Regions from separate parts of the Homo sapiens genome. Here regions 1 and 2 are each linked to region 3. Evidence: promoter capture Hi-C in 16 types of primary human blood cells and fetal thymus (Javierre and others, 2016). All regions are on one chromosome and are shown on one strand. The core of a region is centred on a gene start or on the middle of the fragment in contact, and the rest is flanking DNA. Distances in the headings are between cores, read along the strand shown.

Region 1 (3,619 bases), core at 320-2,819, 3.1 Mb before region 3:
TACCAAACTAATCATAAGCTTTACTTATCAACCTTTAGAAAACCATCCCAGACCAGGATATCTATCCATTAGGAACAATAAATTCCATACGTGTAATTTTACCATTTCTAGTAGGCACATTTTAAAAGTACAAACAGGTGAAATTTAGTAATATTTAGCCAAACACATCCAAAACATTATCATTTCAATATGTAATCAACATAAAAAAATAAGATACCTTACATTCTTTCTAAGTCTTCAAACTCTGGTGTGTATTTTATACTTAAAGTGTATCTCAATAAAGACTAGCTATATCTTTAGTATCAATAGCCACACTTAGCTAGTGGCTCCTGTTGGACAGGAAGGCAGGTCTAGAAGTGTTGGGAAGAAACAGTAATCTGTTTACCACAGTGAATGAATTTTGCTTTACTTGACAAGTAAGCCTAGTATGCCAGACATATCAAGCCTATAAATAGCACGAATCCACTGAAAAATGCTTTCTAATATTCTTGAACTCTCAACTTCACTAAATACAATTTAGGGAAAGGCATAAAACATATATCTAAAGCAAACAGCAGACATATCTTTATATAAAGAACTTACCAACTTAACTGATAAACTTTGTTTATATGTCCTACTAAGCACAATAATAATAGGAAACAACACTTGTGTCTATGAAGCTACTAAATTTTCTACTTAAAAGAAAAGTCGGCCAGGCACAGTGGCTCACATTTATAATCTAGCGCTTTGAGAGGTCAAGGTGCAAGGATCACCTGAATCCGGCAAGACCTCATCTCTACAAAAAAAAATACAATTAGCCAGGCATAGCAGCACGTGCCTATATCCCAATAGGACAGTTGAGGCAGGAGGATTGGTTGAACCCAGGAGTTCAAGGCTGCAGAGTTATGACTGTGCCGCTGCACTCTAGCCTGGGCAACTGATCAGGACCCTGTTGGGGACCCTAAAAAAAGAAGAAAATAAAGACAAGTCCATACTACTTCTCAGCTGACGAGTGCCCTAGATCTAGATGAAACTCTAAATTTTCATTTGTTCTTTCACATAATTTTTAAATATTAAATATTAAACTTCTTAAACAATCAGAATGATTTAAACCATAGTCACATTCTACATGTATATTAAGTAGGTTGGAGCTATGGGCAGGTGGATAAGGCATACCTATAAACACCTGAGAATTACCTATGAGAGAAAATCTAGAGTTCTACACTGTTAAGTACAGTTCATCATCAACACAATTTAAGTAGATTCTATGATGTGTTTAATGTTTATTCTGTGCAACACAGTTACATTAAAACAGACTTCAGGGAAACATTTCAAAGTATTGACTCTCACTGAACAGACACATAAAACCATGATGTTGTTCATTGGGGATCAAAAGGGTATTTATATTACCTGTCTTCTTGAAGTTAAAGGTGTTGATCCAAGTCCTGGGCTAGAAATGTCATCATATATACTTCTAACTGGTGGAGCGCCACTTTTATCTTTATGAGCTGGTACAACTGGTTGTGGTGGTGACCCACCTACAGTGTACAAAAAAAAAAAAAAAAAAAGGGATTCTTCTTTTTGGTAAGATTTTTTAAATTTATATTTTTGAAATACTGACTTAAAATCTTGTCTGTTAGTTCTTTTCAAACTTTAATATGCTGAACAGTCACCTGGGGACCTTGTTAAAATTCAGACTCTGATTCAGAAGGTGTAGGGTGAAGCCTGAGATTATACAGTTCTAATAAGCTCCCAGGTAATGCCAATGCTGCTGATCCATAGACTGCACTCTGAATAAAAGGATTCAGAGTAAGTAGTTAATGAAAATCTTAGTTTTCAGAAAACACATGTAACTTTTGCTCACTCTACAAAACGCTTAACATTTAAATACAAAACTTGATCCCATTTCTCACTTGAAAGTAGGTACTAAACAGCTCCAGTCTGTAGATTCCTGAATAAATACAATTCCCTATGTAGAGTTTGACTATCTAGATTAAGTAGATCCCATTCATGTTTCTCACAGTAGAAATATATTTAAGTACATAATAAAGATGTAGTAAAAGGACCAAGTTCTGTGACATAAAGATGTCTTTATCGATCAGAGAACATGCAATGTCAAATAGTGATGCAGCCCAGGCCATCGGTAAGACTAATGTCTGAGCCTGGACTGTACAGCTTAAGCTATTTAGAGCACAGTCTATGGAATAAGACTAACCTGAGGTTTATAGCGCTCGCTCACTTACTAGCAAGTGAGCTTCAGCAAATTACTTATTGCATTTAGCCTCAGTTTTCTCTTTTTAAAGATGGGGATACTATTACCTACCCTTTAAGATTGACAAAATAATGATTAGCATACTGCCAGGCTCATAAGCAATCAATATACGTTGGCTACCATAATAAAATAACACATTTGAAATTTAATGTTTAATGTTAAATGAATTACTTCAAATATAATTTATAATTCTCCCTGATAAATCCTAAATAATAAACCATTTTAAAGCAAAAATACTTTAAAGGGCAATTAAGGTAAAAAGAGTTTTCACTTGAACTACTACTAAAGGATATTAGCTCACAATTAGAATTCAACACTTCTGTATCTAATTCTCACTACTCAGTTAAAACTTCGAAGTCATTTTTTAAAGTATTTCTTTGCTAAAGGAGTTCTGTAATAAACACAGGCTGCATTTACAATACTTTGCCCTGACAATCACAAATTCTGTGTATAAAACCTCCCCCCCAAGTTTCCTTAAACACGCTATATGTGAGAATCTCAATTCACTAAGACTAAAGGCAGAATTCGTATCTACATCTTCAAGTTACACTTCTTTTGACCGATTATTTCCTATTCTTGTATCTTAAGATGAATTACTTTAAATGAATTCAGTTGAAGCTAAATGATGGTATTTCATCAACTCTGTGAGGCACTCTTCCCCCACCACACTCTGACATCTCCGACACAGAAATTTTACAAAAAATGGCATCTTAGCATTGTGTCATATTTAGGGTTATCTTTCCTAGTGGTACTTAAAAGCCAATTCAAAGGCATCTTAGAATGAAAAAAACATAGAATACATTTTAGTGGCTCTAGAAATTATAGCTTATACTTCTTACACCTCTATTCCAAGAGCCTTAAAAGCTTTGCTTTATAATAGACACATTGCTTAATTTTTTTTAATTAATGTATTGATGAGGGTGAATGCTGCACCACTACACTTTTAAAAATTCTAGCACAAGCTTGTCCCACCCATGGCTTGAACACCGCATGAAGCCCAGGATGGCTTTGAATGTTGCCCAACACAAATTGGTAAACTTTCTTAAAACATTTTAAGATTTTTTTTGCATTTTTTTTTTTTTTTAGCTCATCAGCTATTATTAGAGTTACTGTATTTTATGTGTGGCCCAAGTCAATTCTTCTTCCAATGTGGTTCAGGGAAGCCAAAAAATTGGACATCCCTGTATCTAGCATGTCTATAAAATTATTTTAAGCAATTCACCTACCTGCAAGTAAAGGTGATCTCATTTCCATTACTCCTACTGAAGGGCCACTAATTGATCGAGGTTGTGGAGTCACCGGAGCTGGCAAATCCCCCATTAAAAATCCAGGTAAGAACTGGGCATTAACTCCTGGCTTTGGAGATGT
Region 2 (3,446 bases), core at 238-2,737, 3.0 Mb before region 3:
ACATATTTCCCCAATGTTCAACATTTTTAAATTTTCTTATCTGGCTACCCCAAACCCCTCCTCGCAGCCTCCCCTTCTCAGGTCTGCCCTTACTATTCCAGGCCCCACAACCTTGCCTCCTCTAAATTAAAATGTTAACTATCAGGCTGAGAAGTAACCAGATAAATTAAATTCCTTGACCAGTTAATGACTAGTAATAGCTCGACAGATGATCTCTCTGAAGTGTTTGTATTCTTAAGACTCTCTAGGTACAAAGCATTCATTCAAGGTACTGCAGCTTTGTATATAGAATTTCAGGCACACTGGCAGGTATGATTATGACTTCTTTTGGTGGGAACAGGACTCTTTTAAATGCCCCTTAGATTAAATCCATTCAGTCCACTCCTTCTTTCTTGTTGGAATATTAAAATGAAGATTTCTTTACGAATAGTAGATATAGTAGCTTTAAAAAATATTTTAAAGCTATTCATTACAATTTCCTTTTCTTAAAGAGTTTTGATAAATCCAGTGATGGCTTATTACTCTTAGAATGTCTTATTGAATGTGGCGGGACATTTTGTTACTGACTTAAAATTAATGAATATAATATAAAAAATTAACATATCGAGAAAAGGCAAAGCCAAAAATATTAGAGGCCTGAGTCCTCTTGGCTGAAGTTTCTCACCTCAATTACGTAAGTCCTCAGTTAGTTCACTTTTGGAATCATGTCTAATACATTTGACAAGGGAGTAGCCTTGGAGTGTCGCTAAGAAGAAATTGATCAGGAAAAATGAGATGGCAAAGAAGAATGTTTCCAAGAAGAAGTGGGATTTAGGGTGGAGGCTGTAAAAAAATGGGAGCGGTTCCTTTAGGCATTGAACAAACATTTATTTTTTGCCTTCCACATGCCAGGACCTACTGCGTCTCCTCCGGATGGGTGCTCCTCGCCGACAAAGTCTAGATTGTGATTATCTCAAGGACTTGAGTTACCCTCACTTCCGACCTCCTCTCTCACAAACTGGTTCCAGGCGGGGAGACTGAGGATGGGCTGGGGAGGCTGGCAGAGGCGATCCCCACCTCGCGGAGCACAACATCTGCTGTGTTCTGCGGCGAGCGCCTGTCAAGCAGTGGGAGGAAAAAGCGCTTGGAGCCACCAGCCCACTCTTAAGCGAAACTCGCCTGGAAAACACCCCGCCTCCCAGCAGAGTTTCTGCCGGTTTCTTTAGAAGGGTGGTGCGGAAAAGCAACTTTTGGGAACTTGAAGGAGTGGGGTGTGGGGCGAAGTGGAAAGAGCACACAACGCGACCCCACTCAGTCCCCGCTTGGGACTCCCATCCCGGCATCAGGCGTAGTGGGCGGTCCGGGCCAGGGCCAGGGCCAGAGCGGCGGCGGCGAGGCCATGCCGAGGGCCCGTCGGCCGCAGTTCCCCGTCCGGCCTCGCGGGGGCGCCGGCGCTGCCGATCAGGTGACCGAGGGCCCGTCCGGGGCTGCGGGAAGCGGCCTCGTTCTCAGCCGCCGGAGACGCCGCCGCCGCCGCCGCCGCCGCCACACCTAGTGGAGCAGCCGGGGAAGGCGGCTCGTTGGGGGCTGGGGCGGAGAGCGCCGGGGGTGGGGGCGGAAGGGCGGCGGGCGGAAGGCAGGAGGCTGCCGGGGCGCGGGCTGCTGCGGGAGAAGGGGCTCCGAGGAGTCCGCCGCGGCTCGCTCTGTCGCCGGCGCGGGATTGGGGCGCGAGGGCCATGGGCGCGCTCTCCTAAGGCGGAGGTCGCGGGCGGGAGGGGAGGAGGCCCGAGAGAGGCTGCTGCGAAGGCCGCGGGCCCGTGACTGGGCGCGAGGCGGCCGGCGGCGGCGGCGGCACCAGCACCACCATGTCGCGCTCAGTGCTGCAGCCCAGTCAGCAGAAGCTGGCGGAGAAGCTCACCATCCTCAACGACCGGGGCGTCGGCATGCTCACCCGCCTCTACAACATCAAGAAGGTGCGCACGGGCCGGGGAGGCCGCGGCGGAGGCGGGCGGGCCCGGGAGGGATGAAGGGCAAGGGAGGCCGTGGGGTGGGGGCGGCAGGAGGCGCCGGGTGTAGAAATCTCGGCGTCGCCGCCCGAGGCCCGGCCCGGGGTCGCCTGGATGCGCCGCGGCCTAATGCGGAGTCCCGGGCGCCTCTCCCTGTGGTTCGCCGGCCGGCCGAAGGCAGAGAAGCCATTTCCCGGCTCCCGGCGGCGGGATCGGGCGCTGGGCCTCGCACGGGGTGGGGGCGCCGCTGGGAGCCGGGAGCTGTCCCCTCCTCGGCGCCCCCGCCCCCATGATGGGGCCCATAGGAAAGGGAGGGTGGTGGGTGGGCGAAATTCTAGGTGGGTAGGAAAACTTGAGTGTTCCATATTCTTACGGAGATGGCAGCAGTGAACAGGGATTACACCCCACATCCCCATTTTTTGGTGTGGGAATGTGGGTAGAGAAGGGCTGATTGGATGAATCCCGTATCCCCTCCACTTTGCCACTTTATTTTAGATTGCTAAATAAAAAGCCATTGAGAGTGTGTTGACGATTTGGGATTATTTCATTTTGAAGGTGGAGAGGAGGGGGAAGTGAGGGTGGAACCAATTTTCTGAAATACTTCTAGGCTGTGAGTCACTAGAACTGGAATAACAACCTTCTACTCTTTCCCCTGTACTCCTCCTCATGTTAGATTTTCCAATACCATTTCTTAAAGTTCGGTGTCTGTACAAAATAAAAACCGTAAAAATGTTGCAATTGCTGCTGATTTATAGCATAGTCTGATAATTTGAGCAACTATAGCTAATAGGCCCATTTAAAGGCTTTTACATGTCCTCAGTACAGTAAGGAGTGGAAGACCACTGGAAGTTTAGAAAAGTCCATGTAAAGATAGAACAAATAATTACATTCATTATCGTAGGACAAAACAACAAAATCTCTCCCCTTAAGGCAAGGTTGGTAAGTTTTAAACAATTTGATAAAGAGAAAAAGAGATATTTGGAAAATTTAGATCCATCGAGTTTCCAATGTGTCTTTGATGTCATACCTTCATAACTATTTGTTGGCTTTTTAATATATCGTGAATGTTACCGTTTAGTTTAATCATAGCAATAGATTGTAGGTTGAGAGGGCTTCTGAAGAAAGGTTTTTTTTTTTTTCTTTGGAAATTCATTTCCAAGCGTTTGAGTGTAAAATTGATTTATTTTTTACAATTTGATGTAGACACTAATTCTAAAGAGTGTCCTGGTTTAATGATGATAAATTTTGGATAAGGACAAAGTCTGGTTGCTCACCTAATTGCAAGGCTTTATTACTCTAAACCCAGTGCTATCTGGAGAGTAACTGCAACATGCTTACTCAGTTTGTTACCTTTTATGTGGCAGGAGCTCAGTGTCATGACAAAGAAGCCCCTCTGCATTTACCAAGGAGCCTAGGTTATAAATTTATATAGGTTAGGAATAATTCAGTTTTAAATAGTAT
Region 3 (3,221 bases), core at 33-2,532:
AGTCTTGCCTTTTCATATTTTTCTGCCTGCTTTATATTCGATGGTAGCTGATTAGATTGTTCCCACCAGATTAAGGGTGAGTCTGTCTTCCCCAGTCCACTGACTCAACTGTTAATCTCCTTTGGCAACACCCTCACAGATACACCCAGGATCAATACTTTGCATCCTTCAATCCAATCAAGTTGACATTCAGAATTAACCATCACCGGTAGTATTGTGGGTTTTTAAATATATGAATACAAATGTTCATCTCCAGATCCATCTCCTGTGCCCTGTATTGGTGCACCAAAATGCACCATCAACAATGGCCAAATATCTTAAATATGAAATAAAATAGATAACACTATTGTATACTAGCAATTATCTTAAATGCATCTTGTGTATCAACTAATTCAATTCTTAAAACTACTGCCTGGATGGATACTATTGGTATTTCCATTTAACAGATCAGGAAACGGCCACAGAATGTGAAGTTACTTGCCCCAGTCATCCATAAATAATAAAAGGACTCAAGATTCAAAATAAGTAGTCCAACTGCAGTGTTTTTATTCTTAATCATCACACTCTGCCTCCAGAAAGGAGTGGAAGCACAGCACCCTAAAACTGTAATAGAGAAGTGTGTGGAGAAACCAGTCCTGGTTTATGAAAGATTTGATAACATAAAGATATTCTTGGTTTAGGAAGAGAGTTTCCAAAATAGCAAGTAGTTGAACTTTTAGGTTTTGTTACTAGTGAAAAGTGAAGTTTAAAGAAACTGTTTGATGCCCTAGTTCTGCACGCTGTACAAACTGCTACTTCCTACTCAGCCAGGCAATCTCTTTATTCTCAGGTCATACCAGTTGGTACCTTAACCTAAAAGAGAGGCAACACAGTCTCTATAGAATTAGTTTTTCCTCATTATTTCACTCTATTTATGATTTAATATTCTCCCATTCTTATGGCCTGGATATCTTGGAATTTATTAGGCACTTAACTGTTGGTCAAACTCTTATAAAGTCTCAGGAAAATCTCTCTCTTAAGATTTTTCAAGGAAAGTGACAACTGACTGCTTTTTTAAAAAAAATTTCCCCAAAATGCAGTGAAATAGTTTTAAAGTAAATTCGGCTAGACCCTGAACACTACTAGGCTGCCAGTGAGCAGCGTGGATGTTAACTCGCTGGCGCGCATCTGTATGAACTACAATTCCCATCGTACACCGCGCCATTTCACGCTAAACTACAATTATGCTTTCCTCATTTCCGTCAGCACAGGCGCTGGATTTCGGACTTTGTAGTTCATGCCAACTTCTCTTTTTTGTCGCCATTTTGGCAACAAGACAGTGTGCCTGGATCGACTACTTTGACTCTGGTATTATGATATGGTATTTGAAATAAATTAAAGGGATAACGTGTCAAGCCAATTGAGCGTCAAGTTTTTAAATATTTCACTATTCGCCTTCTTCCTACCGTCGGTGCTCGGGAAGAGGAAGTGACGTACGTCCGGTGTAATGGCGGCGCGGTGGAGCTCTAGGTAATTATCGAACTCCGTGGAGTCCCCGCAGGCAGAGACGCGGAGTGGGGGTGGCGGGTCGCCGGATCGGGTGGGAAGTAAAAGACCCCCAGGAGTGGGTGCGGGCTCACTGATACGGCTGTGAGCGGCATTGGAGTGTGCGTGGGTCTTCTCGCTACGCTCGGGCCCGCAAGAGGGGTGTGAGAGCGGCTAGGTCCAAGCAGGTGGGGAGGGAATGGGCTGCCATGAACTGACTGCCTGAGCGGACCGGCTGACCTTCCTTGTGAAGTTCCTGGAGCTGTCTGAAATCCTGCACCAACGCTGGTGCTGTGTTGTTTCTTGTGCACTGCGTTTTATACTTAGAGCCTCTGGAGTCCATTGGGGCTTGCCAAAGCCCCTTTCCTAGTGCCCGGGTCCCAGGGTCAGGGGAGTGGGATTAATGAGATCTAGTTGATTAAAAGTTAGTTGAATTACTTGCACTCTTATGCCTCTTGCCGGCATTATATCCCTTTGACTATTTGTTTTAAATTTCATTAGCGTCTTCTTTTTCATTTATTTGCCCTGTAAATACTGATAGTGTCTAGTGTTTAGTCTTGAAGACACTTCGCTTCTCATGTGCCCGCTTCATCTGTCATTCTTGATCCTTCCATAACTTGAACTATCTCCAGTGAGGTAATAACTGCCAAACTTGGGTCTCCAGGCTCCACCTCTCTAACGAGCTCTGGGTCCTACAACACAGCATTATATAACGGAAATATAATAGTTAATTTCACTGAGTTTAACTGCAAAAACCACGGTACCTATTTCCATTTAATCCTAACAATTCTTCTGAGGTAAGTGGAGAAGGCAGGATTTGGAGAAAGGCTATTCTAGATGCAAGAATTAGGTAAGAGTTTCCTTTGCATTTTTAGATGTGCAGAGACTCGAAATAGCAGATAAGCAAGCAAACTTGGTTCTCAGCAGATCAGTTAACCTACCTCTTATCTGTATTTAGACTTACCTTGTTTTAGGATTGCTTGTGAATTCAGGAGTTAACATAAATTATCATCCTACTATGGAAGGGCAGATTTAAAATTGACATTAAAAGTGTGGTTTTGACCAGGAGAGGAGAAGCATTGTTACAGGCGTTATCAGTAGGTGGAGGAAAGCCACTTGTGTTGGTCCTGGGTGATGGACTAGTAGACCAAAGATTTCTGTTTTATCCAGCTATTATTAGGTCTGTCACTTGGAGCAAGTTACCTAAAGTCTCTAGTGTCAGCTTCATCATCTGGAAACATGTAGGTAGTAATACAATACCTGCCTCACTGTATTGTCTTTTTTTGAGTATAAAGAAAAATAATGCAGATGAGGCACTGAGCACAGCGTTAGCGTTGTATTATTGTAAATTACTACTATGATACAGTTGATGAGTTCTCTCTGTTCCTCAATTCTTGTTCTCTGGTTCTGAATGTTGCCTTTCCACCTGTAAGTGTCCTTCCAGTTGTTTTTTGTTTTTTGTTTTGTTTTGTTTTGTTTGAGACGGAGTCTTACTCTGTCGCCCAGGCTGGAGTGCTGTGGCGCTATCTCGGCTCACTGCAAGCTCCGCCTCCCTAGTTCATGCCATTCTCCTGCCTCAGCCTCCCAAGTAGCTGGGACTAAGGTGCCCGCCACCACGCCTGGCTAATTTTTTGTATTTTTAGTAGAGACGGGGTTTCACTGTGTTAGCCAGGATGGTGTCTGTCTCCTGACCTTGT

Evidence for each region. Contacts are between HindIII fragments. The CHiCAGO score rates a contact against its expected background, and 5 or more counts as called.
Region 1: a fragment that was not itself captured here is called in contact with the fragment with the promoter of CWC22 in region 3 in 3 of 17 cell types (non-activated CD4 T cells, naive CD8 T cells and total CD4 T cells); the score reaches 11.4 in non-activated CD4 T cells.
Region 2: the fragment with the promoter of NCKAP1 here is called in contact with the fragment with the promoter of CWC22 in region 3 in 2 of 17 cell types (non-activated CD4 T cells and total CD4 T cells); the score reaches 7.1 in non-activated CD4 T cells.

What each region holds. Positions count from the first base shown.
Region 1 is chr2:183,128,316-183,131,934 of GRCh38, reverse strand. NUP35 (nucleoporin 35) reads right to left here. Exons shown (of 9, transcript NM_138285.5): 2 at 3,478-3,619; 3 at 1,390-1,517. Among named protein-coding and RNA genes, the nearest start is that of NUP35, 5.7 kb to the right of the region's middle. The HindIII fragment of the contact is 3,097 bases long and covers 21-3,117 here.
Region 2 is chr2:183,036,498-183,039,943 of GRCh38, reverse strand. NCKAP1 (NCK associated protein 1) reads left to right here and starts at 1,487. Exons shown (of 31, transcript NM_013436.5): 1 at 1,487-1,952. The coding sequence starts at 1,845. RefSeq lists silencers at 914-1,565, 1,298-1,887, 1,948-2,067. The HindIII fragment of the contact is 8,317 bases long and covers 1-3,446 here.
Region 3 is chr2:180,005,358-180,008,578 of GRCh38, reverse strand. It overlaps CWC22 (CWC22 spliceosome associated protein), which reads left to right and starts at 1,282. Exons shown (of 20, transcript NM_020943.3): 1 at 1,282-1,712. RefSeq lists an enhancer at 1,602-2,134. The HindIII fragment of the contact is 3,569 bases long and covers 1-3,221 here.